Regions from separate parts of the Homo sapiens genome. Here region 2 is linked to region 1. Evidence: promoter capture Hi-C in human tissues and cell types (Jung and others, 2019). All regions are on one chromosome and are shown on one strand. Each heading gives the region's core, a stretch centred on a gene start or on the middle of the fragment in contact. The rest is flanking DNA. Distances are from core to core; before and after follow the strand shown.

Region 1 (5,190 bases), core at 1,646-4,145:
CCCAGCACTTTGGGAGGCCAAGGTGGGTGGATTCCTTGAGTCCAGGAGTTCAAGACCAGCCTGGTGATCTGCCTGCCTCGACTTCCCAAAGTGCTGGGATTACAGGTGTGAGCCACTGCACCTGGCCTAATAAACTTCATTTTATTTTATTATTTATTTATTTATTTTATTTATTTTTATTTATTTATTTTTGAGACGGAGTCTTGCTCTGTTGCCCAGGCTCTGGAGTGCAGTGGCGCAAACTCGGCTCACTGCAAGCTCCGCCTCCCGGGTTCATGCCATTCTGCCTCAGCCTCCCGAGTAGCTGGGACTACAGGTGCCCGCCACCATGCCCAGCTAATTTTTTTTGTATTTTTAGTAGAGACGGGGTTTCACTGTGTTAGCCAGGATAGTCTCGATCTCCTGACCTCGTGATCCACCTGCCTCGGCCTCCCAAAGTGCTGGGATTACAGGTGTGAGCCACCGTGCCCGGCCTATTTATATTTTTTGAGATGCAGTCTCGCTCTGTCGCCCAGGCTGGAGTGCAATGGTGCAATCTCAGCTCACTGCAACCTCTGCCTCCCAGGTTCAAGCAATTCTCCTGCCTCGATTACAGGTGCCTGCCACCACGCCCAGCTAATTTTTGTATTTTTAGTAGAGACGGGATTTCACTATGTTGGCCAGACTGGTCTCGAACTCCTGAGCTCAGGTGATCTGCCTACCTCAGCCTCCCAAAGTGCTGGGATTACAGGCGTGAGCCACCATGCCCGGCCATAAACTTTATTTTTCAGAACAGCTTTATATTTACAGAAAAACTGTGATGATAGTTTAGAAAGTTCACATATATGCCACACCCAGTTTCCTTTATTTTAATATCTTATAATATGGTGCATTTGTTGCCTTTGATGGACCAATATTGATACACTATGATTAACTATGGTCCAGCTTTACTAGGCTTTCCTTAGCTTTACCTAATGTCCTTTTTCTGCTCCAGGATCCCATTCAAGACACCACATTACAAACGAAAATGTATTTTCTGTCATTTCTGGGACAACGGACAGGGTGGGGACGCAACAGTATGTGCTCCTGGCTCGTCAACACCGTGAAGCTGGGTTTCTGGCTCCCCAGGGACTTGGGGAGCACTTGGCAAGGGCATCAGACTTGATTTCATGCATCCTGGGTGTCTGTTCCACTCCCAGGTCTTCTTCAGCATGTCCTCTGACTTGTCCCCTCTCTGGCCTCAGTTTCCTCATCTGGAAAATGAGGGCCTTGGTGAGTTTCCTCTGGATAGGCGGTGGCCTGGGGCAGAGGGAACTGGCAGGCTTGGTGTTGTCCTGAGGGTGGAGCTGGGGCTCAGGGCGGCAGATCTCACGGAGTTCAACACAGGGGCGAAGGCTCTGATTTTGGAAGCTTTTTAATTCAAAGGTCAGGGGCCAAAGTCATGCCCCAGCCTTGCTGTTAATTCCTCTGTGCCTCAGGCAAGGCGCTCCTCATCTCTGGGCCTCAGTCTCCTGATCTGTAAAGTGATGGCTGGTGGGATGACTTCTGAGGACCCTTCTGGCTGGGAACAGAGCAGGCTGCCCTGGGAGCAATGAGTCTTCTCCCAAGGGTGCAAGCTGGGCCGGGAGGCCTCCTGGGTGTGGCAAGGGGTGATGGCCATGGTGGCATGTGGGTCCCCCTGCTGATGGAAAATCTGGCCTCTGTGTCCACCTTTCCCATGGCTAATTCAGGGGATGGTGGCTGGCGGCTGCAGGACACCCATGCCTTCCTTCCTGGCTCACTCAGGACTGCCTTTGGCCCTGAGCTAAGGAAGGCCTGCCAAGTGTACCAAACCCCGGGCCATGGACTTCCATGGGACGCACAGAAGCACGCCCTCACTATGTGCGAGCCTGTGGCAGCGCTGGCTGATGTGTCAGTCAGCTCCCAGGCAACTGCCAGCCGAGGCCAGGCTCTGGCCCACAGGCACAGCAGGTCCACCCTCCAAAACTCCAAGGGAGTGGGAGAAGGAACAGAGGCATCACTGAGAGGGTGAAGATGAGGGGCCCTGTGCCCTTACCTCCCCAAAACTAGACTTTCCATTTGAGAACATTCAGGTTCTGCCTTGTTTCCAAGCGTTTGCATCTGCTGTTCCCCCTAGCACCAATGCCTTTCCCTTTTCTAGCTGTTGAACTCCTACCCACCCCTCAAGGCCCAATGCAAAAGTTCCTTCTATTGGATCCTAGCTGCTTCAGGGCCTACCTGTGTCATGGCACGTATCACCCTGAATCATAACAGCCACTTCTGTACCTGTGTCCCCATCCAGAACTCAAGTTCCCTGAAGGCAGGAGTGGGTCTGACTCATCCCTGTGAGGTTGCTGCAGACGCATTATCTCCCCTTTGCATTATTGGTGAAAGGGCCGGGTGGAGGAAGGGAGGATTGCTGCACCAACCTTTCCTCGGCGCCTGTTTACTGGCACCGTCGCATCCATTCCACGCCGATCCTCCGCAGTCCCCCTATCCTGCCAGCCGCTCCTCCTTGGGGCAGGGGCGGCGCGAGCCACAGGGGCGTGCCCGCGAGCGGGTCGGGGCTGCGGAGAGAACGGGCCGGGGTAAAAACCCGACGGCTGCCCGCGGGTGGGCGGGGCGCGCAGAGCCGGTGGGAGGCCGCGGTGGCAGCAGTCGCCCCCGCGCATCGAGGGACCCAGGGACTCGCGCAGATGGCACGCGGCCACCTCGGTCCTGCCGGGGAGCCCCATTTCCAACCGAGGCAACTGAGGTTCCCAAAGCGCCAGCTACCCGCCGGGGTCTGGAGAGCGCCGGGGCCCGGCCGCCCCGCCCAGCCAGAGGTGCCCCGCCCCAAGCCTGGCGCACCTGGCCCCGCCCCGCCGGGACCCCGCCCCCGCCCTAATCAGAGCTGGTTCCGCGCCGCGGCCGCCGCGACAGGTGCAGCAGAGCCGAGCCGGCCGCGCTCCGAACGGCGCCTCCCGCCCCACCATGGGCAACAGCGCGAGCCGCAGCGACTTCGAGTGGGTCTACACCGACCAGCCGCACACGCAGCGGCGCAAGGAGATACTGGGTGAGCGCCGCGCGGGGCCCACCCCGGTGGGGACCGCCCCGTTGGCCCGTCTGGAGTCGCGTCGTGGGGTCGAGCCCAGACGGGCCGCTCCAGCTCTGGCCCAAATTCCAGTGGGCGTTCCGCCATTGCCGCTCCCCTCCCTGGGGTCCCCGGCCGGCTCCCCGAGGGTCCCCCACCCTGGCCGGGTCTGAAACTCCCTGGGACCTGAGGATTCCGAGGACCCCAGTACGGGTCCGAGCGCCAGGGAGCGCGTCCCAGCTGTTCCTCGCGAGCCACTCCCGGGGCCAGGGCCGGGGCTCTGGGATGCTGGGACGCGAGGGCGCAGGGGCGGCCCCGGGACGCGCTACGAGGCGCACGCGCTCCCTGGCGCGGAGGCAGCTTGCGCGACGCGGGGCCTCCACCCGCAGTCACTGGGCGCCTGCTGCGCTCAGAGCCCCTGGGTCTCGCGGCCACGGGCGCCCCAGGCTGGAGTTCAGGGCGGATGAGCGCCGGGAAGGGAGCAAACGCGAATGAGAGGCGCGCGTGTTTTCTTTGAAAAAAGCAAAGATTGTACTAAAGAATCCTTCTATTCTGGCATGTCGCTTATTACGTGGTGGCTGTTTTCCTTGTTGCTTCGTGTCCTCTGCGAGGAGGGCATCTTTACCCACTCGGAGTCACTCTCGTTCATGCCAGAGGCCCCATCCCACCCACAAGCAAGGTGGCCCCGGTGAGTCGTCCTTGGCCCGGGCTTACGGGGTTAAAGGGCCTGCGTCTGGAGAGTGGCTTTTGCCAGATGCCACCAAATCGCCACAGGCTGAGACAGGCCCGCCCCTCCCGCCCTGCCTAAGTCAGCACCGCGCGTTGCCACACTTTGTAATCTTCAGTCAGATTGGGGAAACAATACCATTTCACTGTGGCTTTAATTTGCACTTATTTGATGGAGGTTTCACATTTTAATCGGGCGTTTTATTTAATTTAATTAATTTATTTATTTAGAGACAGAGTCTCGCGATCTCGGCTCACTGCGACCCCCGCCTCCCAGGTTCAAGCGATTCTCCTGCCTCAGCCTTCTGAGTAGCTGGGATTACAGGCACCTGCCACCACACCCGGCTAATTTTTGTATTTGTAGTGAGATGGAGTTTCACCATGTTGGCTAGGCGCGATCTTAGCTCACTGCAACCTCTCCCCACTGGGCTCAACTGATCCTCCTACCTCAGCCTCCTGAGTAGTTGAGACTGCAGGTGTGTACCACTATGCCCGGCTATTTTTTTTGTATTTTTACTAGAAACAGGGTCTTGCCATGTTGCCCAGGCTGGTCTCAAACTTCCGAGCTCGAGGGATCCACCCATCTCAGCCTCCCAAAGTGTTGGGACTACAGGCATGGGCCATGAGCCACCACGCCTGGCCTGAACAACTTTTTTTTTTTTTTTTTTTTTTTTTGAGAGGAAGTCTTGCTCTGTCGCCCAGACCGGAGTGCAGTGATGCGATCTCCACTCACCGCAACCTCCGCCTCCCAGGTTCAAGCGATTCTCCTGCCTCAGCCTTCTGAGTAGCTGGGATTACAGGCACCCGCCACCACACCCGGCTAATTTTGTATTTGTAGTAGAGATGGGGTTTCACCATGTTGGCTAGGCTGGTCTCAAACTCCTGACCTCAGGTGATTCACCCGCCTCTGCCTCCCAAACTGTTGGGATTACAGGTGTGAGCCACTGCGCCCAGCCAACTTTTTCTTTCTTCCTCTTTTTTTAATCCCATGGCAGCATACTGAGATACCATGACTTTTAAATGTTTGAAACCCAAGATACATTGGGTGGCTAGCCTGTGACTGCATCCCGGGGTAACTGGGGCCTCAGGAGCTGGAAGCCTCTATGTGGGTTTGTGACTGCTGTGGTTTCTCCTGGGAGGTGAGCTGCAGCCCAGCATCGTCTGGTCCCAGCAGTGGTAGCTGCCTCCCGTATGCTGTGGAACTCCTGGGGAGGGCTGGGAGGAACCTTGGGGGTCATCTGACCCTCCCTCCCTGCTCATCATGTGAACAGGGCAGGTGTCCTGGCTACTGCCCCTCAGCAGGTCTGAGGTGGGGCTGAGGCTGGAGCAGGGGCCTCCTTGGCCCTGTTTGCATTTCTGTCCCCTCCCCTGGCTATCCCCAGCTTCACTTCACAGGACTCATTGGGTATCTG
Region 2 (5,190 bases), core at 1,743-4,242, 320 kb after region 1:
AGAACTTTACAAACTCAACAGTGAGAAAACAATCCAATTTTAAAAATAGGCAAGGGGAAAAATGGGCAAAAGACTTAAATAGACCACCAAAGAGGTTATTCAGGTAACAAGCAGGCACAGGAAAAGATGTTCAACATCATTAGTCATTATGGAAATGCAAATTAAAACTACAATGAGATATTATTACACATCTATTAGGATGGTTAAAAGTAAAAATGCTGACAAAAGCAAGTGCAGTGAGAATATGGAGCAAATGAAACACACTCTCCCCCACTGCTGGTGGGCACACAAAATGACACGACCACCCTGGAAAACAGTTTACCATTTTCTTATAAACACATATTTCCAATATGACCTAGCAATTCTTAAGTATTTGCTCTAGAAAAATGAACAATATTCATACAAAAACCGATACGCCAATGTTTCTGGTGGCTCTGTTCAGACTTGATAGAAACTGGAAACAACTCAAAGGCCCTTCAACTGGTGAATGGATAAACTGTGGTGCACTCATACAATGGAATATACTCAGTAATAAAATGGGATGAATGACTGATACACAAAACAACTTGCATGGGTCTCAAAGGCATTATACTGAATGAAGAAAGCCCATCTCAAAAGGTTACATCCTGTACTATTCCATTTATATGACATTCTCCAAAGACAAAACTGTAATGAAGGAGAATGGATCAGTGGTTGCCAAATGCTGGGTTGGGGACACTGCACAAGGGAATTTTGAAGGTAATTGGAATGTTCTATATCCTTAGTGGTGGTTGTTACATTAAACCATACTTTGTTAAAACACATAGAATTATCTCAAAAATGACAGTTTTTATTGAATGTTAACATATAAAATAAAGTAATTTTATGAGCATTTAAGTAAGATAAGGTCCACTCATTGGTTTTGCCAATTTTTTTTTTTTTTTTTTGACAAAGTCTCACTCTGTTGCCCAAGCTGGAGTGCGGTGGTATGATCTCAGCTCACTGCAACCTCCACCTCCCAGATTCAGGTGATTCTCTTGCCTCAGCCTCCCCAGTAGCTGGGACTACAGGCACACACCACCATGCTCGGCTAATTTTTGTATTTTCAGTAGAGACGGGGTTTCGCTATGTGGGCCAGGTTGGTCTTGAACCCCTGACCTTGTGATCCGCCCGCCTCGGCCTCCCAAAGTGCTGGGATTACAGGTGTGAGCCACTGCGCCTGGCCTGGTTTTGCAAATTTACAAGTTATTTTTGCTTGTTGGGATTGGTTGCTATTATACTATGAGAGCTCAGCAGAGAAATATTTCAATGAAAACTAAGTACTTATTGCTCAAGGGAAAGAGACTGTCCTTAAGTGCTATGTAACTTCTTGTGAATGGACAGTAGTTCTGTGGAATTTCTCCATTTCTCCTTTGACTTTGGATAGGAGGGAAAGAAAATCTCACTTCAAAATGTCATGCCACTGGGAGAGAGAAGTGGGGAAGATAAGAAGGTATTTTATATCTGTCTTCCCTCTGAGGAGTAATTAAACAGTTCAGTGAAATCTTCTAATGTGTGAATAAAAGAAGGCAGAGTCAGGTTGGTGTAACAACCATTGTGTAGGACGCTGGGTCAACACACACCTACCTGGGAAGGTCTCTGGCCTCAGGCGGAAGGCAGGGAGAGTTCTACTAAGGTAGGAGAAGACATTCTAGAGCTAAGTCAGTGTTGACAGCACTGGCAGAAGAGGCATAGACTTCAGTCTTTAAGAGCACGGACTATGGAGTCAAGCTACCTGGGTTCAAATCCCAGCTCTGCCACTTACTAGCTACATGACCTAGGACAAACTACTTAATCTCTATCTGCCTCTATGTATAAAACAGGTGCAACAAGAGTATTTCATAGGGTTGTTATAATATTAAATGAGTTGACACATTTAGAGTACTTAGAATACTTTTTGCATATAGTGCATGTATAAATAAATATAAGCTGTAATTAAGTTATTGTTACTATTGTTGTTTCCAATAAAAATTACCAAAACAAATCCAAGTTTAACAAAATTCCTATGTGCTGTCTCAACGGTTATGCAAATTAGCACTGAATAATTAGAAATTAGTGCATAATTAATAATATTTGCTTTTTAAATCATGAAAGAATCTGTAGCATAGACTCATGCATTTATTTTTTTTCTTTAGCAATAGTGTCTCACTCTGTTGCCCAGGCTGGAGTGCAGTGGTGCGATTACAGCTCACTGGAGCCTTGACCTGGGCTCAAACAATCCTCCTATCTCAGCCTCCCGAGTAGTTGGAAGTACAGATGCACACCACCACATCTAGGTAATTTTTAAACTTTTTATAGAGATGGGGTCTCATTATGTTGCACAGGCTGGTCTTGAACTCCTAGCCTCAAGCGATTATCCTGCCTCAGCGTCTCAAAGTGCTGGGATTACACAGGCATGAGCCACCACACCCAGCCTAGAACTGTGCATTTCTATGACATTTTTGGGTTGTTCGTGCAGACAGCAGCTTCTAGAGAAGGCACACACGCTCACTGCTGGGACTCAAGCACATTTATTGTGGCTGCCAGCACAGGATTGAGGAGGAAAAAGTTGGTCTCTGTAGTATAACCTTGCATTTTCAAATCAATATTATAAAACAACATACAGAGTAAGGCAAGACTGGCCTGCTCCCTGCATTCAAAAACTTTAGCATCACTGTGGTCTCAGTGGCTTTAATAAAACTGCACAAATCAGAATATTTAAATTATATTGCTGAATTTATATAGGAAAAAGTTTGATTTTAATATTTTAATAAAAACCCCCACCACCTCAATATTTGCCTTCAAATACAAATGGTTAAAAACTGAAATGTCAGATCTGCTTAGGAGAGCCCCCATTTGTGAGATTTGCTGAAGTTTTCCCCATGACATAATCCTAGTGCTTTTCAGATCCTGCCAAAATCATTGCTTTAACCTGTAATGGATTTTCTTACTTCTGTTTCTGCAGGTAATTAATCTGAAGAATACGACTGGGAGACTTCTTGGCAGCAGCATGAGCTGTCTGAGGTTCTTAACCTTCTTGTGTACAGAAAAGACCAGTGTTGTTCAAATGACTTTACACTTCAATTAAGCTGGGGGAAAAACTGATTAGCATAATGAAGAACAAAGCCTAAAGCTTGCTTTAACCAACACAAACCATTTGAATCTCTAAGCATTTCATAGGATTCCACAGCACAAGATGTGAAACTTCATCTGAATTTCATCAAAGAAAACCTCAGGTTGGGAATGCAGCACCAATAAAACTTTAACAACTTATTTATTTTAAAGTCATTTTTGCTCCTATACCTCTCAAATCTATCTGTGGAGGTCATTAAAACAGTGTCAATAATTGAGCTTTAGCTTTTTTTCCCCCAAGTTTTTACATTCTTGTCTATTATCACTTTACAGTGTTAGAGGGAGGTTTGAAGAAGACAATATTCTCTAAACTTTTACCTCTTGGGTTTTCTAAAACTTTTGTGTGAACTGGAGCTCCGGTTGGGCTGGGCACCTGCTCCTTTCCTGATCTGTTTACACATGGCAGTGTGTAACTGCGTCTATGGGGCGGTGTCTCTATCTCAGTATTGGGGAACGATCTCCCACGTTGTGATCTCGCAGCACATGCTGACTCTATGGGCACAGGGTAGACAAGATTTAATCAGAGGGAAAACTGAACACCCAGTGGTGCGAGGCATTGATGCAGATGTCTTAGCTGGCCAACCACTCTGAAAGCCACTCTGCAGCCTCTGCCAACAACCCTTCTCAGGGCTACACGTTCCAACTTTGTGGCATTTTGTCAAGGGCCAAACACTGTTGAGAGTAGTCTGCTAAGGGTTACCTATACTGCCCTGTCTGGGTCCTGGGGCTTTAGAGGCACAAGAGAGAGAGCACTGATTTGGGATTCAAACTGAGCAGTAGCCAATTCCTAATCTGTCCCCTATTAGCTATGTGACCTAATACCACCTGCCTTCTGACGTTCCTGTGAAGATGAATGTTAGCGTGTATGAAACTTCTAATACTATGACGGCATACAGACACTCAACACAAATGGTACTTGAGCCTTACTAGAATCCATTGTTATGAATATTCCTGTTTTGTTTATAAGAGCAAAAAGCAAACATTGATCTTCAGTGAAATCAACGATTAACAATAATTATTGAACAAATTCTGCAAATACTGTGCAGGTCTCTCTCTGCAGCACCTCTGGCCAAGTTGAGGAAATGTGATGTTAGCCTTAAGATAAGGCATGGTTTGATGCCACACGAGCCCTCCCACTTGGCAGCACACGACCAGTGGCAAAAGGACAGGCCAAGTGTTACCTCTCATAGCCTCCAGCTCCAACTTGACTCTCATGAGAACCCAGCCAAGCACTGGCTTCTTTCTGAGTTTCAAGGGATGCCATGGGTCTGGGCAGCCCCTACATCACCCGCAGTTTCAGAAGCAAAAAGAAGACCTTGTAGCTCTGCTTTTACCATAGGTCCTCATGTAGCTATTTACAGATCTGACTTTGAAGTTTAATTACTTTTTCTCTTACTGTAAAAAACAGAACAAAAGGGTTTCCGGTAACATGATGTGTTTCACTCTATTAAAAGGTGAGAGAAGCATGCTTTTTTCTCCATTCATGTGATTATCTCAGTATCCAGGGATAAGAGCAGGCTCTTGACTCTGTAAATCTTCCAGTAATACTAAGACATTGTTATCTGAGTGCTATTCCCGGAGGTTAAAGTGGCCTAGTAATTTTAAAAGGTTAACTTAGAATCTGTTCCCTTTATCGTGAGATGTTCTTATTTTCTTTAATTATTTAAGATAATGATAGCACCAAAACAATAATAGCCACCCTTGATTCACCAGCCGCTGTATGTCAGGGCCTAAGCTTTGTGGTGCAGTGTCCCCATGCCCAGTGTCCCCACGCCACACAGCGCCCTCCCACAGAGGTGCCACCCTCATGCCACAGATGAAGTAGGAGAACCTGAGTTTCTGGTCCACCTTGCCTAAGGTTGCACGGCTAGAATGTGGCCAGCCGAGGGTGAGCTGTGAGCCTAGGCTCTTTTCACCATATGAGTTCTCCATCCAAATGACAGGTATTAATTCCAGTGAGATTTCTGTGGTACTAAGTAAAATACACATAGAATTTTTACATCATTTTGCCTTTTCCAAAATATTACACAAATGCTATTTAGAAAAAAAACTTACCAGATT

What was found. Contacts are between HindIII fragments. The study calls those that stand out against the background at their distance.
Region 2: a fragment that was not itself captured here is called in contact with the fragment with the promoter of DEGS2 in region 1 in 2 of the 25 tissues and cell types used here (IMR-90 fibroblasts and liver).

What each region holds. Positions count from the first base shown.
Region 1 is chr14:100,157,350-100,162,539 of GRCh38, reverse strand. It overlaps DEGS2 (delta 4-desaturase, sphingolipid 2), which reads left to right and starts at 2,895. Exons shown (of 3, transcript NM_206918.3): 1 at 2,895-3,034. The coding sequence starts at 2,953. It overlaps LOC124903380 (a long non-coding RNA gene), which reads right to left and starts at 2,503. Exons shown (of 2, transcript XR_007064330.1): 1 at 2,409-2,503; 2 at 826-1,232. RefSeq lists silencers at 2,549-2,948, 3,049-3,108. The HindIII fragment of the contact is 21,272 bases long and covers 1-5,190 here.
Region 2 is chr14:99,840,213-99,845,402 of GRCh38, reverse strand. All of the region lies in intron 1 of EML1 (EMAP like 1), which reads right to left. Among named protein-coding and RNA genes, the nearest start is that of EML1, 49 kb to the right of the region's middle. The HindIII fragment of the contact is 5,012 bases long and covers 487-5,190 here.